Linked DNA regions of Homo sapiens: region 1 is linked to region 2. Evidence: promoter capture Hi-C in 16 types of primary human blood cells and fetal thymus (Javierre and others, 2016). All regions are on one chromosome and are shown on one strand. The core of a region is centred on a gene start or on the middle of the fragment in contact, and the rest is flanking DNA. Distances in the headings are between cores, read along the strand shown.

Region 1 (2,700 bases), core at 158-2,657, 3.5 Mb after region 2:
TGAAATATGTTAAAATGTTGCCACAGTTTCAAATTAGAGAAAAAGACTAAATCATAAGTGAATTTTACATCAGAGTAGTGATCAATTCATTCCTGTAACTAATAAGAATCTGACCAACATTCCTGATGATATGACCAAAAAGCAACATTACCTTTCTTGATTTATTTCTTAAGAATGCACCACTATTTGAAAAAATGTCTTTCTTCAAAAAGCAAATGATGCCTACAATTTCTAATCTGCTCTAGGTCTTTCTGTCTTTTCTGAAAATGTTAAACATGTTTAAAAATATTTAGTTATATATTAAATTAAATATTAAATATTAAAAATATTTAGTTAGATAATACAGTATAATACACTGAAAGCTAGTTCTACTAAATGTTTAGTAAGAACTGAACCAATTTTTATATGACCATCTTTTCCAGTTTCAAGAGAGAAAAATAATTGGGTAGGATGAAGGGTAGCCACAATTAGCACAAAAGATAACAAACTCCTTTAAAATGAAATCAAGCTCAGGAGTTCAGAAAACAAAATCCTTCCTCATAAAAACAGATGAAGTTAAATATAAATTTAAGAGATTTTAGGCAGAAGAGAATGAGTAAGTATAAATCACTGGTAATTAAACAACTATTAATTGTATGCCAGGCACTGTGTTGGGTGCCAAGATTTGAATAGTGAGTGAACACAGCCATGGTCTCTGCCTTGGTGGATATTACAGTCAAGTTGAGAGGTGATGACAGAGCTGAGGTCTGCAACGTTAATACAGTAACTGTGGAAAAGGGAGCAAAGGATTTTATGAGAAAGTAATAAGACCGATGTGCTGAAAGGGAACAAAAAGGAGGATAAAATCCATTACCAAAGATATTTAAAGTGCTTAAAGTGTAAAGACCAGAAACAGTGATACTTGAGAAGTTTTGGTGCTTTCAAAACTGATCAAGGTGAGTAGATTACTCATCCTAATGGGCAAAATAGAAGTTAGTAATTTCACATGATGTCAGTAGCTATAATGCTTTAAGATGTAAGAGGCATATGTTAACTAGTTGCTATATGAAATACAGTGTGAGAAGTTATTATACTGTGCTGTATTTCTTTAGATTGTGTAATTGGTAACCAGAGACCAAATAGCAATACTTATTTTCTTTTAGAGTCTACTCCACTGAAAAGAAACAGAAGGAGGAGAAGCCGCTCTCAACATTAGTCTGGCTAAGAAGAATGAGAAATCTCTACAGTGGCACCACAGAAACACATTCATTAAATGAAAGGCAAATGACACACAGCATATTAATGCCAAATATTACTATTTATTTTTCCCTAAATAGTAACAATATATGTCCATCAAAGTCACAGAGAGTAGAAAATCTGAAATAAATTTAGTAAAACCAAATAGAAAAAAATTATCTAACCTTATGATGTCTTTGGCTTTACATCCTATATGTTTAAAATCAAAGTTAAGATGCAGTTCATCCAAAGGAAGATCCCATATTTTGCTTAATTTCCCCATTTCATTGGGAAAGGATCTTAGTTCCAAGTTGTAACTGACATCCAGAGATGTCAGATTTTCAAGACAGCCAATCTCAGGAGGAATCTTAATGGGAAAAAAAAGGGCAAAACCTGTTGGTGGGAAGGAAGAAATGTGCTCTGCCAAAAAACGTGATAAGAAACAAGAAAGGCTCACAGATTCCATCAGCAGCTTGCACAACCTTTCAACAGAGTTTTAAAACTTTCCAAAGGTTTGTCATAAGTTGTCAGTATGTGTTTAAAAACATAAAAACTTACATATAAAAACTTACTCCCAAACAATCTATGTCACTCATCTGTAATATTAAAAAACCCAATCTCCTTTGGTAACATACTTCATCTCTTCAAGACATTGAAAGTAAGGAAGTTCTTACCACAAAATGGATTTGGTTATCCATTATCTGTGACTTCATTCTGCTCCTTCAGTAAAGGCAAGAAGACCTAGTCACTACAAACCTGCATGCAATTTAGTGTTCTCAAAGTACAGCTACATGCTTATACTTTAGGTGGCATCCTAATTGGAGTAATTTCTTTTCTGTTCCAAATTTTTAAGCAATATATACTATATTTATAATAGAAAACACTCATTTGCTGGCAAAAAATCAGGTAGCAAAATATATGCACAGTTTTGCTGAACCTCACAGTGTCAGACACTTAATTCTTTTGGTTTTTGTAGGCAATACGCTAGAACTTGAAAAATAATATTTTCTGAGACAAACAAATTATCAATTTCAGATTTACAACAGAGAGAATGGAGCAAAACAAAAAAGGTTGATCCATTAGGGTGATAGCATGGTGGCGGAATGCAGAAATTTAAGAATGTACCAAGGAAAGCTGAAAAACAAGTAATACAGTATACAGGCCAGTAACAACTTGAGAAAAATGGTTTATTTAAGAGTCTGTTAACAGATTGGACAGAGATTTGGTGATACAATGACACACAGCATCACATTCATCTATAATTATGTATATATTCATATAATCCTTTAAAAGTATATCACAAAAGTAATTTTTTGAGGAAATTATGCTGTGTTACCATATCCATTTACCATAGGGTAGGCTTACAACTTGTTTAAAAAACAAAAAAAAATTGAATGGTATTGATATTTACAATGCTTATTTTGAATTTATAGTTATTAAATGACATCCACTACTATTCCATAGAACACTCTTTATGAGCTAGTA
Region 2 (2,700 bases), core at 2-2,501:
CTCTGCAATTTTCTCTCTGCTCAGCAATGTAGTCAAAAACTGGTAAATCAGGGTGAACCATTGTGTCAGGAAGAATTTGATTAGAATGAAACTCCTCCCTACATTTCTTAAATCCATACAAGTCATAAAACTCAGATTTAGTTTATTCCTGAATATGAGAATATGTCTGAAAAACAGAGCTCAGATAACAGGCAATAGAACATAACCTTGTTTGCTGTGATTCTTGTAAAGAAAAACAATTGCAGGCCTGTTCATCACTCATGAAAAATACATCGTATAGTACTGGAACAGTGATTAACTTGCACTTATATTATTGACCTGAATAAATTATTTCTTCATTAGCAGATTATAATTTTGTGTATGTGTCACTTCAAGGCCCTAAAAATAAGAACTAGCTTCCCACCTAGTAGCAGTAGAGAAGCAGTACCAAAAAAAAACCAAACCCCCCACAAAACTAACATTACCTTTCAGGAAGGAACTACATGTTTGTAAAAGCAGGAAAGGAAAAGATTTTTAAGTAATATCTGCTGCTACCTTACAAATCTGTCCAAGTGAATTTTGAATAATTACTGGATTAAATAATAAACTGCCAACCTAAAGCAGAGCAGGATTTGCAATGGTATAATCGACCACAGAGGGATACTCAAATCAGCTAATCTCTTAGTGGCTGTCTCTTTCCGGAGTGAAGAGAAAGATACACTGAGTCTCTAAATGTGTCCAGCTGAAAAGAAAAGTTAACAGTCTGAGATTAACTTAATTTAAAATCGTGGAAAAATTTGATGAGAGGCAGTCTATATTAATTCTTTCAAAACAATGGAGCAAGGAGAAGGCTTTTCTACACTAAACGGTATCGATTATAGGAAGAGTAAACCAAGAAAAATAATGTGCACATCTTTTTTAAGCTGGAAAATGCCTATTTGGTAAAATGATCACTTCCGTTTTTGAGCACCCCTTTGCTGAGGCAGCGAATGGCGGCGTCGGCGGGGTTGTCAGAGAGCAGACGTCGGAGCACTGAGCAGTCTAGATTCTGCGGCATGTCCCCCCCGGAAGAAGCGGGAGAGGCGGCGGCAAGAGCAGAAGCAGGACCCCAAGCAGAGAACTAGGATAGCGAGGCCGGGGGCTGGACCGCAGCCCGGCGGCCAGGAAGGGCGGCGGGGCGGCGGGGACGCTCGGGCACTCAGTCAACCTCACGGGGCGGGGCGGCCGCGGGTCGCGGGCGGATGACGCGCCGGGGCCGGCGGAGGAGCAGCCACTTCCTGGGGCCGCCGGCCGGGGCCGCTGGCTGCACTCAGCGCCGGAGCCGGGAGCTAGCGGCCGCCGCCATGTCCCACCAGACCGGCATCCAAGGTAACAGCGCCCGGCGCGACTCGCAGGGAAGGGGCTTCCGGGAGAGCCGGGAGAGCCGGGAGGGCTGCAGGACCGGCAGGGCTGGAGTCGGGCCGGGAGCTCCGGAAGTCGGTCTCGCGGGGCGAGCCGGGCCTCGGCGCCTCTCCGCGCTCCTGCTTCCCGGGCGCTGCCGGCCTGCGTCCTCCTCCAGCCCGGTCCCTGCTGCCGTCACGTTGCAGATTGATCCGAAATTCGGGGGAGCGAAGGAAATTGGCTTTCGAGGCGGCCTGGTTGAAGGGGGCGTGCCTTCCACCGTCCCCGACAGTCGCCCAACTTTCCCCCTTTTGGTCACGTAGGGAAGAGCTGGGACAGTGGAGGCGACTGGGGCTTCAGTACGCTGTCGAGAACCAGGCGAGTTTTCTTTTTCATGGTCCAAAGGAGAATATTACAGGACTTTGATTACAAAAAGAACCATGCCAGAATCTTTCTCACATCAGTAGGGGTGCTTCCCAAAACTCTCCCGCATTTTCTCTCCAAATAGGAAAATGAGAGTTATGTTCTGAGAAATCTCGAGTGTAAGCGTGTGTTTTGATCTTTTTCCTAGATACTCCCCAAGGGAAACTGATCTGTATGGTTGCATGTAATGCGTGCAGACAGTTCAATATGCAGTTATATCTGACCTCCATTATTTCCTGGTTTGAAATTGGGCAGCCTGCAGGTACTCACCTCATCAAGAGTCAAATAATATATCCCCGGGTTACTCGCGATCACTTAACGAGTTCTAGTGTAAACTCAAGCTCTTACTGTTAATAGCGAGTCTTTCTCCCAGATGAACACTTAATTGTATGTTTTATTCGTAAAGATTTTTGACACCACCGCACACATCCCCCTGCACGCACGCAGAAGCAAAATAGTCTCAAATCTGAAAACTTTGTTTTATTTATCCGCATTAATTTCGATATATAAATATGTAGTTATTGACTCTCATGCTTGAGCCTTATAGCAAGCACTACCTACTTACATAGTGGTTCTTGCTGCTAATAGACAACACAGGAACGAAATTAGAACGAAATTGAAGCTTTAATAGGAACACAAGGGTTAGTTATTAAATACATATTTATTCAATGAGTTTAATCTAGCTTTTGAGAAATGCAAGTTAGAAAAATATAACCAGAGTTAAGACTGAATGCATTTTATTGTCTTTTTCTTTAAACAAGTTAGGATATTTGATATATACTGTTGTTTTTAACGGGAAAATACAGAAAGTGAATTGATGAAGGAGTGTCTGTCATAAGCTTGAAACTGAATTAGAGAATGAAAGCAGGTTTTCAATATTTTTCAAAAGAGCAAGAAAAGTTTTTCAAAATTGTAATT

The links. The method cuts DNA at HindIII sites, captures the fragments that hold promoters and counts their contacts. A CHiCAGO score of 5 or more calls a contact.
Region 1: a contact is called between a fragment that was not itself captured here and the fragment with the promoter of TWF1 in region 2, in 1 of 17 cell types (monocytes). The highest score is 8.7, in monocytes.

What each region holds. Positions count from the first base shown.
Region 1 is chr12:40,304,667-40,307,366 of GRCh38, reverse strand. It overlaps LRRK2 (leucine rich repeat kinase 2), which reads right to left. Exons shown (of 51, transcript NM_198578.4): 28 at 1,401-1,582. Among named protein-coding and RNA genes, the nearest start is that of LRRK2, 81 kb to the right of the region's middle. The HindIII fragment of the contact is 3,436 bases long and covers 1-2,700 here.
Region 2 is chr12:43,804,868-43,807,567 of GRCh38, reverse strand. TWF1 (twinfilin actin binding protein 1) reads left to right here and starts at 1,251. Exons shown (of 9, transcript NM_002822.5): 1 at 1,251-1,347. The coding sequence starts at 1,323. It also overlaps a transcript of TMEM117 not described here. RefSeq lists a silencer at 1,076-1,555. The HindIII fragment of the contact is 5,668 bases long and covers 1-2,406 here.